2 separate regions of the Homo sapiens genome follow, and region 1 is linked to region 2. Evidence: promoter capture Hi-C in 16 types of primary human blood cells and fetal thymus (Javierre and others, 2016). All regions are on one chromosome and are shown on one strand. Each heading gives the region's core, a stretch centred on a gene start or on the middle of the fragment in contact. The rest is flanking DNA. Distances are from core to core; before and after follow the strand shown.

The links. The method cuts DNA at HindIII sites, captures the fragments that hold promoters and counts their contacts. A CHiCAGO score of 5 or more calls a contact.
Region 1: a contact is called between a fragment that was not itself captured here and the fragment with the promoter of RPS27L in region 2, in 1 of 17 cell types (endothelial precursors). The highest score is 5.1, in endothelial precursors.

The regions. Positions count from the first base shown.
Region 1 is chr15:63,395,297-63,401,149 of GRCh38, forward strand. It overlaps LINC02568 (long intergenic non-protein coding RNA 2568), which reads left to right. Exons shown (of 7, transcript NR_120375.1): 3 at 305-385; 4 at 3,091-3,171. Among named protein-coding and RNA genes, the nearest start is that of LINC02568, 8.0 kb to the left of the region's middle. The HindIII fragment of the contact is 2,138 bases long and covers 1,271-3,408 here.
Region 2 is chr15:63,153,554-63,159,518 of GRCh38, forward strand. It overlaps RPS27L (ribosomal protein S27 like), which reads right to left and starts at 3,924. Exons shown (of 4, transcript NM_015920.4): 1 at 3,847-3,924; 2 at 2,860-2,968; 3 at 2,068-2,178; 4 at 1-507. The coding sequence starts at 3,852. The coding sequence ends at 479. RefSeq lists enhancers at 2,664-3,863, 3,148-3,237, 3,388-4,047, 3,443-4,016 and a silencer at 4,198-4,297. The HindIII fragment of the contact is 11,776 bases long and covers 1-5,965 here.

The DNA of each region.
Region 1 (5,853 bases), core at 1,090-3,589, 240 kb after region 2:
CCTCTCTTCTCTCCCTCTCTCTGTTTCTGACTGCAACTGTAGTGAGTGGAGTATGGGGCTCACTCATTATCCATCGTGTAAGGAGTTGCTCTTGTTTTATTTATTTGATTTCCCCCCCACCTTCATTTCTGATACCCATTCTCCTTCTTCCCACACGCTGTCACTCTGATATTGTGATAATGTATTCTTGGGTATGTATGTGAACTTACAAAATGTTAGAAATGTTTGTTCCCTGGTGCCACAAAGAAATAGCACTCGAACATACATTTAATTCTCTCAGCAAAGCAATTTTTACTTTCTGCAGAAAGGGTGCTCATCACAGATGGAACAATGGCGAGAGCACACCTGGACAGGGGAGGGGCAGGAGTTCTGATTCCTGACACAGGTAGGCCCTGCTGCTGTGTTGTTCCCCTGTTGGCTAGGGTTGGACCGCACAGTCTAAGCTAATTTTGATTGGCTATTTTAAAGGGGCAGGGGTATGAGTCAGAGTGGCGGAGTGAGTAGTTTGGCAGGAAGGACAGTTAGGAACAGGTAACCAAAGGTGACTTAGGTCAGAGAAGGTGACCAAGGGTGACTCAGGTCAAAGAAGATGACCACAATGAGTCAAGATGGAGCAGGTGACCAGGGGAACAGATGTGAACTACTGATTAGGACTACGGGGAAAGTTGTTTACTTAAACTAGAAGCAAGTGGGCAAAGAGAACCAGGAAGTTAAACTTTAAAATGGAGAATCAAAGAATAAGAGAGCTGAAACTACTGACGTGCTGATTCTTTGAAGAGAAATTTGCAGTTCACTATATTTAACAAAAATATGTTATTTTGTGTGGTTTGGTTTTTAAACCTACCTACCGCATTTACTTATCCATTCCCCTAGCAAATGCCCCAGCTCCCTGCTACCAGTACTACAGTGAGGTGAGTGTTTTTGTCCGTGATCCTTTAGGACCTGTGTAAGAGTTTCTCGGAAGCATATGTCTAGGAGTGGAATTGCTGATGCATATTTATTTTCACAAAGTACGTCTAGGTTGTGACTGCGAACTGCAGAACTCTCTGCCCGTAATGACTCTGTCCAAACCCCTGCACTAAGAGACTTGACCAAACCCTAGCATGGCTTCTAGCAGCTTAAGACCATGTCCCTAGGATGATACCAGCCTCCCTTAAAATGCTTGCCTGGAAGCTCAATGCTGCCAGGAGAATTTACTGTTTATTCTGGCCAAAACCTGGTGATAGGCAGATAAGCCCCTGAGCTCCCTCTTAGAGCAGTTATTTTAGAAAGCTTGCAATTATAAATCTTTCCTTTGCCCTTTGAGATGTAAATCTCCCACCCAAAACGGTCTCCTCAAGGATCTGAGAGCCCTCTCTTTGAAATGCAGATATTCAGGGAGCTATAGCTCTTCTCCCAGGAGGATAAGGGCCTAACTGCTATGGATGCCTTACTTTAGGAGAAGTGTGTTTATCCTTCGGATAAGCACCAGTGAACAAATCCAGGTGGCGCAATCACATAGACTAACCCTCCCTTAACACCCCACAGTGCCTTTCCCTTAATCTTTAAATAGTCTCCAGTACTTTGCATCAGGTACTCTGTTCACACTCTACTCTTTTTCCTTATTGCAGTAGTCCCTGAATAAAACCTGTCCTGGCTGCTTTAACCGGTGCCTGGCTCTATCTTTGACATGCCCTAGAATACAGTGTTTGTTTCCTTTCCGTTTTGTTTCCTTACAACCTGCCAGAGTTTGGTATTATCCAGTCTCCTAATTTTCCAACCTCATGGGTAAAAAGACTTAGTCTTGCTATTGTTTTAATTTTCATTTATCTAAGAACTAGTGAGGTTCACTTTGGGAGGCTGAGGCGGGTGGATCATGAGGTCAGGAGATCAAGACCATCCTGGCCAACATGGTGAAACCCTGTCTCTACTAAAAATACAAAAATTAGTTGGGCGTGGTGGCGGGCATCTGTAGTCCCAGCTACTCGGGAGGCTGAGGCAGGAGAATCACTTTAACCCAGGAGGCGGAGGTTGCAGTGAGCCGAGATCGTGCCACTGCACTCCAGCCTGGGCAACAGAGTGAGACTCTGTCTCAAAACAAAACAAAACAAAACAAAAAAACTAGTGAGGTTGAGCAAAACCAGTGGGTTTTTTGGGGTGAGTCACATATTCATATCCTTGCCCATTTTCCTGTTGTATTCTCTTTTTCTGATTGATTTGTAGGACTTTCTTATATATTCTGTATAATAATCTCTTGCTGGTCTTGGGAGTCTCAAATATTTTTTTCTCAGTCTATCACCTGTCTGTTCATTTAGATAACTATATCTGCCATCGTCATTATTGTTAATTTTGATATAGTCATCAATTTGAGGGGCAGGGAATACAGTTACACTTTTTGAATGTTTTTTAAAAAAATTCTTCCCCACTTCTAAGGTCATAAATATATTCTGACGTATATATATGCATACACATGCATATCTATGTTTTGTAGGGTGGTGTTTCACATTTATATCTTTAATTCTTCTGAAGTTCACCTTTGCTTATGGTGTTAGGAATGCAGCTTAATTTTTTTCCATGTAGTGAGCCAATCTTCCCTACACTGTCTACTAAGCAACCCATCCTTTCCCCATTTACTTGTTTTTCATACATCAGGTGCACATACAACAAAACACATAAGCATACCTATGAATTTCTGACACTTTCTCACCCTTACTCTATTTCCATGCTTCTACACCACAGTGCCGTAATGTTTTATTATATAGCATTGGAGTATACTGGGGCAAGTCATTCCTCTTTGTTCTTTTTCTGAAATTGGCTCAACTGATGGTGGACCTTGTTTTTTTCTTCTATATAAATTTTGAATATGCTTTTTTTATTCCCTCAAAAAATTCTGTTGGGACTATACTGAAAGTGCCTTGAATTTTTAGACTAATTTTGGGAGAATTGTTATCTTTACATGTTAAGTAGTCTTGTCTACCAATGTGGCATATCTCTTTCCTTAAGTCTAATGTCCTTTGATAGTTTTATATTTTTCTCCAAAAATTTATTTTGAATATTAAGTTGATTTTTTAGTTGTGTTGCTCTTCTGAAAATTATCTTATTTTCTATTAGGTTTCCTGGTTGAATGTTCTGTTGTAGAAGAATGCAACTGAGTTTTCTAAACAGATCTTCTTCTTGACATCCTTGCTGAACGTAAGTATTAGTTCTAAAAGTTTTTCTATTAAGTCTGTGAGGTTTTCTATGTAGATAATCAGATCACCTGTACATAACGACAGTTTTGCTACTTCCTTTCAAATCCTATACCTAGTACTTCTTGTCTTATCACATTGGCCAGGACCTCCAATACTATGCTGAGGAGTGGCAGTTCTTAGAAGGAATGTGGGTGTATCTTTACCTGTTATCTCCTTCCTTTCCCCTGATGTACCCACAAGCTTCATCTCCTGCTGGTGCAGGACTAGTGATACTGTTCTGTCTTGCAGTGGAGTTGGGGAAGACTATAATCTGCCCATGGAAATACAAGGGAGGAAAATAGTCTAAGATAAAATCTTCCCCACCTACAGCACTGTCCCTTTTCCCCTGCAGTCTGCAGTCGCAAACACATACACTGGGCTCCAACCATTTGCTGTCCCTCTAGAAACTTCTCACAATTATCACATTAGATTCTCAGATCCATCAGTTGCACCATTTCTGAGACACTCCCAGAACTAGGTTGACAGAGATAGCCAGGAGCCCCTGTTGGGTCCCCATTGTGTCAGTATCCAGAAGCCAGAATGACACTTCTAAAATAGTTATAATCATGAGAATGTTTTAATCAAGGGCCTTTAAAGCCCTCATGTAAGCCCTTTAATATCACATTCAAAGGTCTTAACAAGCTGGCCTCACTTCCTTTTCTACTTCCCATAACACACCCTACACTCCAACTACCCTGGGTGATGTTTTCCCCAAAAAATGCTGTGCACTTTAACCCTCTGTTTACCATACGTTTACCTCTGTATGGAATTCTCTCTCCCCTTTCTCACATTGAGAAATGCTACTCATTCTTCAAAGCTCGGAACAAAAGTTGTCTTCAAGAAGTTTTCTCTAGTTCATGCCATTGGTGTAAATCATTCCTTCTTCAATACTCCCTGGAGCACTTATCTGTCAGATTTGCCTTATAGTTTGTTGCCAGCAGAGCAAAAACTGTGTTTTATCCATATTTCTATCTCTAGTTCAGTTTTTCACGCACAGTAGATGCCCAATAAATGTTTATTCATCAGGTTAAATAATGAAGACCACGATTTGTAGGAAAGATAAGTTTTTAGTAAGAATGAAGTAATCCTTTTCTTGGCTAATCTCAGTTCCAGTAAGATTGAGTGTGAATTTCCAGAAGTGGTGTTATCTTCAGCAATTCTCAGCACCATGCAAATAGGAATGAAAACATATACTGTAGGCCGGGTGGGGTGGCTCATGCCTGTAATCCCAGCACTTTGGGAGGCCAAGATGGGTGGATCACTTGAGGTCAGGAGTTTGAGACCAACCTGGCCAACATGGTGAAACCCCATCTCTACTAAAAATATAAAAACTAGCCGGGCATGGTAGCGGGCACCTGTAGTATCAGCTACTCAGGAGGCTGAGGCAGGAGAATTGCTTGAACCCAGCAGGCGGAGGCTGCAGTGAGCCGAGATTGCACCATTGCACTCCAGCCTGGGCAACACAGCAAGACGCCATCTCATTAAAAAAAAAAAAAAAAAAAAAAAAGAAAACATGTACTATAAACTCCTAGTCATTTTCTTTATGTGATTAAGTCCTCCGAGTGCTATAACAGGTGTTCAACTTGTACAATGCTGAGCAATTATTTAAAACAAAATGTAGGCCGGGCGCAGTGGCTCATGCCTGTAATCCCAACACTTTGGGAGGCTGAGGCGGGCGGATCATCTGAGGTCAGGGGTTCAAGACCAGCCTGGCCAACATGGTGAAATTCCATCTCTATTAAAAATACAAAAATTAGCCGGCCATGGTGGTGGGCGCCTGTAATCCCAGCTACTCGGGAGGCTGAGGCAGGAGAATCACTTGAACCCGAGAGATGGAGGTTGCAGTGAGCGGAGATCGTGCCACTGCACTCCAGCCTGGGTGACAGAACAAGTCTCCTTCTCCAAACAAATAAACAAAAAACCAAAATGTATCTGCCAAGTCTAACATATAAGGGCAATTGTGAAAGTTATCCTGTGGTTAGACATTCCTGGGTCTCTATTCTCGAAGAATCCTGCTAGTTACATCCTTAGTGGGTATCCTTACACACAACCCATAAAATGTACCAATTTGCTGGTGAAAATTATGAAAACAAACAAAATTTTCTTTTGAAATTGTTACCTTTATTTTTGATAGGAATTTTCACTAAGTGGGATTCCTAATTGCCCCATAGATAGATTAGCCGTGCTGTGGACGAGACGTGAAAAAGGTAGATGAGTAAACTGAAGTAAGATGAATAATAGTTATGTTGTCCCTTTTCTTTGAATGATATACAGTAGTTTCTTCCATGTGTTTATTTTTTTTCTTTCCTGGCAAGTAGGTCAAGAAAGTGTTATTAATATTATCATCTTGGTAAACACTGAGATAAGGAGAAATTAAATTAATTTTTTCAGTAGATTGTTACAACACTGGTCCTTAATTTGTTCATACCTCTCTCTACAACATCCTTGGATAATACCTTTCGCACTGACTCAAGGCTTAGCCATGTATCTTTCTTTGGCCAATGGGACAAGAGCAAATGTGACACAAGAAGAAATATTCAAGCACTTGCACACTGAAGCTTGCTTTCTCTTGCTGCTCTTTTATACCCTGAGACCACCATGCTGAGAACATTATGTGAAGCCTGGGCTAGCCTAGTGGAGGAGG
Region 2 (5,965 bases), core at 2,674-5,173:
ACTCTTGAAAATGAGACACAAATTAGCCAGGCATGGTGGTGTGTGCCTATAATCCCAGCTACTTGGGAGGACAAGGCAAGAGAATTGCTTGGACCTGGGAGGCGGAGGTTGCAGTGAGCCGAGATCGCACCACTGCACTCCAGCTTGAGTGACAGAGCAGGACTCTCTCTCTCAAAAAAAAAAAAAAAGACACAAACTAATCAGAATAAATTTTAAAATGTTTAAACCAAATTCATATACACCATATATATAAATGTATGGCATACTCAAATATATTTTAAAAAAAGAAAAAGAGGGGATTTGCCCATAATCAAAACTTTATTGAAAAACTGACACCAAAATAGGAGATTACTGCTGTATACCTTACAAAACCAAATGTAATTACATTATCTTGGTAAATTAATTAGAATTATGGAATTTATGATAAGGCTTTCTGTGAGACAACACAAAATTAAAATTCAGGAAGCTGTTTGAATCATTAGTGTTGCTTTCTTCTAAATGAACACCCTGCAAAAGAATCATGAGAGTATATTAAACAAGTGCATTCTACCTTTGCTATAATTTTAATGACAAAAAGTACTTTTAAGTAAAATACTGAAGTTTTAAGAATATTGGATTAATACTCATATACAGATTATTTATCCTTTTATACCAGAAATTTGCTATAATACATCTATCATATCTGAGTTTACTCTGGTATGACTATAAGTGTCACTCCTGTTTCTCAAATGCTATAATGAAGTCTACTTAAGACCATGAGCCTGAATTCAACAGTGAAGACTGTTTCAAGCAAGCTGTCAGAAGATATACTCTTAATTTTTAGGAACTATTCTGAATACTTTTCTCAAGTAAATAATTTTGATTAGAGGTATTTTCAGACCTATTAGGAAAACTCTAGAACAGATAGACCCATTAAACCATCTGTCAGCATATGGGCACTAAATTCCAAAATCATGACATGACATACTTTGTTTCAAAAATCTCCCAAGTATACTTAGCAATATTACTTAGCAATATTACTCTTAAAAAAATCATGTGCTGACTCCATATTTAGATCTCACCAGGTCACACCAAATAGATCTCAGATTTGCTGCCAATCCACTTGAACTCTTCCAGTGAGAGCATGGAACTTACAGCTCCCCAAAATATCACAAGCAAATTTATAACATCATTATGGAATCACAAATTTACAAGTATTACTATGGAAACTATATATATAATTTTTTTTTCTTATTGCACTAAAGTGAAAGAGGAATTAAAATTAGGTTTTTATATTAATCATTGCAGTTGCTCATAAAAGTAAAATCTCTGGCATTTTAACTTATATATTAGCTATCTGTTGCTTAGCTGGCAATGATAAAAAAAAAACTATTATATGTACTAAATATATATGGAACAAAATTTTGTAAAAGAAATTTTAAAATTCTATATGGTTTTAAAAATCTGTATGTCCTGGCCGGCGAGGTGGCTCATGCCTGTAATCCCAGCACTTTGGGAGGCCGAGGCGGGCAGACCATGAGGTCAGGAGATCAAGACCATCCTGGCTAACACAGTGAAACCCCACCTCTACTAAAAATACAAAAAATTAGCCAGGCATGGTGGCACGCGCCTGTGGTCCCAGCTACTTGGGAGGCAGAGGCAAGAGAATCACTTGAACCGGGGAGGCAGAAGTTGCAGTGAGCTGAGATGGCGCCACTGCACTCCAGCCTGGGTGACAGAGCGAGACTCCTAATAAAAAAAAAAAATAATAAATAAATAAATAAATAAATCTGCATGTCCTATAACATGTAGTTATTCTTTTGCTTCTATTCTGACTTAATTTATTCCAAGTTAAGCAAACTAAGTGAATAAATGTGTTCTAAACTAAGAAAAATAAGTCAATGGAGTTCACTGCAAGGTCAAGAGTATAAATATATCCATTTGAACAGGCCATTCTTTACTGAAAGCACACAATGAAAGATAAGTTATTTTGGTAATCATTAAGATTTCTTTAAACTTTTCAGTGAAGATAGAGACATTTATAATCATCAATCTCATCACTGGGTTGGAGAATGCCAAATGATATACCTTCTGTGAGTCTGGCCTTTCCTCCTGTAGGCTGGCACAACACTGTTGAACAACCTACACAAAGAACCACTGTCTGAGCATGGCTGAAAACCGTGGTGATCTTGTAGCAACCTAAAAAAAAAAAAAGGCAATGTTAAAAATGAAAAGCAGAGGAAAACAGCACCTGTTCGACATTTCTGGTAATATGTAAAAAAATCAGTAACTTCAGTGCTATGAAACAGCAAGCCACATGTGTAACATAAACTTTTCTAGCAGCGACACAAAATTTTTTAAAAACAGGTAAAATCAATAATATATTTCATTAAACTTAATATTTCCAAAATATCATTTCAACATGTAATCAATGTATTTTTTTTCTGTGCTACATCGTCAAAATCCAGTGAGTATTTTACAATTAAAGAACATCTCTATTTTGAGTATCCACATTTTGATTATCCACAAGTGCTCAGTAGCCACATTCAGCTAATGGCCATTGTATTGGGCAGCACAGCTTTAGACTGAAGAATCAACAGACTTTTCTTTGTATCATGAAACAGAAAACTCATCGTCTGAAGAGCTTAAAGACTTGCTAAGTCAAATGGCATATCTCCTTTGAATGCCTGTTTTCACTTACCCCGAAATGTTTCTACAATGGTTTCAGTACATTTATTATGAAAATGTCCCTGACATTTCCAATTCTGTAATCCCACTTCTACTCAACAGAGGGTTCTAATGTATCTTAACTATACACACCACACTAGCAATCCCTACAGAAATTTTCTTTAGTAAAGGAATTAAGATTTCAAATTTTACCTGGACATTTTACATCCATAAAGTAAGAATTTGGACTTTGTACTAGGCGTTTCTTTTTATGTTTTTTCTTTTCCTCTTCCAAGGACGGATGTAGTAAATCTCTAGCCAACTGAACAAAGAAGCATATTATTACTATTAGTTTTAAACCACAACGCTGGCACATTTAACCATACGTGAAATATACATGCAAAAACAGGAATAACGGTCATCCTCGGCAGAAGCAACACGTCAGATAGTAAAGTTATTTTTCGAAACCTGTTAATAACTTTCATCAGTACTTTTCATAATACTTGTGTTCTCCAAGTCCCTAGAAAAGGGCTTTCGCACGATCAGGAAACATATGGTAAGGCAAACTTTGTCCTTCTTTACTCAACTGCGTAATGAACTGTCTTCGATGAAAACTGCGCGAAGTCGAGGTGCTAAGCAAAGAAAGTGACCCCGACTGTGGACTCGCTTAGAGTAGAAACTGCTGAAGTAGACCAGACAACGTCAGCGCCTGGGTGATTTTTGCTCCTGTGGCTCAACAGCTGATCTGACAGGAATTCTTGCTGAGCGACCGTCCTTGACGGAATTAATATATAAGGCAACAACGAGGACAGTTTTTAAAAAAGGAAAACAAGTAGGAAATCGCTTCCGAAAGAAGGCAGAGGGGGCGAGAAACACCAATCACTGGGAAAGCCAAAAGACCCAAAGATCACAACCTCAGGGGCATCCTCAAAGACCAAGACCGCTCATAAGCTACACAGAGAACTGTTCCCCTCCCAGCCACCGCCTCTGAATTGCAGCCCACGCCCCTGCAGGGCCAGCCGCGCCGCGGTGACCGGGCAAGTCACTACATGCCCGCCACGCGCGAAGACGCTGCGCAACCTGAGCCGCCTCGCCACTCTCGGACACTACAGGCCCGAGAGGCAGCCGGACTCATCCGTCCCATATGACTCTCGGTAAAGAAGCCCAAAACAAACCCGGAGCCCGATGTAAACAACTCACAGGCATGTTGATCCTCTTGCAAGCTCAGCCCTACCAGACCTCCCAGCCCACACAGCTAGCAAGCTGCAAGCGATCTGCGCTCGGCATCAACTTCCGGGATAGAAGCTGCTGGGAGGAGCGGCGGGGCGGGCTTGTCTGCTCTAGGCCCTCCTCTCGGTGGTAGGGGGACGCCGCAGCAGGGTACTCGGGTCCAGGGCGCAGGGAAGACCCGGGGATGGTGAGCGTTCCAGGGTGCCAAGTCCCGTGGGTCTAACGGGCTTGTTGGCGAGCGCCGCGGGCTCTGCAGTGCCTGAGGCCAGAATCTGGCTGGGGAGCGGCCTCGGGCTTAGGCCATGGCGAGGGAGCGCCCGCGGCCACCGGGGCCGGCGCCACCCCGGAACCCGGCGGGCCGCTCAGCCCCCGGCCCCCTGGCCCGGCCGCTCTCGGTTAGCTCTGGGGGTGGGCACACGGGGCAATGCCACTATTCTCTTCTTTTGTGTATTAAAAAATACAGTATTATTAACCATTAATACGTGCCAGAGAGATTATGAAAGAGGCTCGTATCCTTTTGGCTTCCCTTTTCAAGGCGCAGATTTCGAAGTTTTCTGCGGGGTATGGCTGTGCCTTAGGTTTGCTTTGTTCTGAAAAAAAGTTTTTAAAACAGCACGGATTCGCTGCTGTGCCTCATTCACTAAGAGGCCCCACCCCTTCCGAGGATTACTCGTCCTTTGCAGAGTGGACAACTAGGGGGCCTGAGAAAGGCGAATGTCACCGATGACCGAACATGAGTCTTTATCATTATTATTATTTGAGACAAGGTCTCGCTTTTTTGCCCAGGCTGGAATGCAATGGTGCCATCACAGCTCACTGCAGCCTCGACCTCCTGGGCTCAAGCGATTCTCCCGCCTCAGCCTCCCGAGTAGCTGGGACCACAGGAACACGCCATTATTCTTTTTTTTTTTTTTTTTTTCCTTGGAGACAGGGTCCTGCTATATTGCCCAGGCTTGTCTCCAATTCCTAGGCTCAAGAAGTCCTTCCACCTCAGCCTCCCAAGTAGTTGGGACTACCGGCGCGTGACAGCATGCTCTATTTTTGAGGAGGAAACTCTATGCTTGAAAAATGGGTGTCATGGGCGACCAAAAGGCAAGAAACCAGAAAGACACTTTACCAGAAAATTGGTCTAACTGGATTTTTTTTTTTTTTTTTTTTTTTTTTGGCAGAGTCTTGCTCTGTCACCCAGGCTGGAGTACAGTGGCGCGATCTTGGCTCACTGCAACCTCCGCCTCCTGGGTTCACGCGATTCTCCTGCCTCAATCCTCCCAAGTACCTGAGATTACAGGTGTCCATCACCATGTCCGGCTACTTTTTGTGTTTTTAGTAGAGACGGGGGATGGTGGGGGGGGGGTTCACTATGTTGGCCAAGCTGGTCTCGAACTCCTGACCTCAAGTGATCTGCCCGCCTTGGCCTCCCAAAGTGTTGGGATTACAGGCGTGAGCCACCGCGTCCCGCCCTGACTTGATGTTCTTAATCACCTTATTTGTCTTTGCAAAAAGGATACATGTATAATATACATTTTGGGAAATGCAGAAAAATAGAAGAAAATTTACCATCTGTAAATAAACATTTTTAACTTTTGACCTATATCCTTCCCAATATTTTTTACTCTCTTGGATATAGGTTTATTTTGGGTTTTGACTTAACCTAATTGGGATCATCTTGTGCATAATCTTTTGTAGACTTGAATTTTCCTCCCACTTACTATAAAATGAGCATCACTCCATGTCACTACATATTCTTTTTTTTTTTTAAATAAGGTCTCACTGTGTTGCCCAGGCTGGAGTGCAGTGGCACAATCTTGGCTCACTGCAGCCTCGACCTCCTGGGCTCAAGCAATTGTCCCCCCTCAGCCTCCTGAGTAGTTGGGACTGCAGGTACAAGCCACCACGCCTGGCTAATTTTTGTAATGTTTGTAGAGATGGGGTTTCGCCATGTTGCCCAGGCTGGAATATTCTACATTATGCTTCTTAATGGGCATATAGCATTTGTCCTGTGACTATATATATTTTCACTTCAGCCATACACTAAATTGGGCATTAGGTTTGGGTTTTTAAATATTTGATACTTAAAAATTAATAAAAA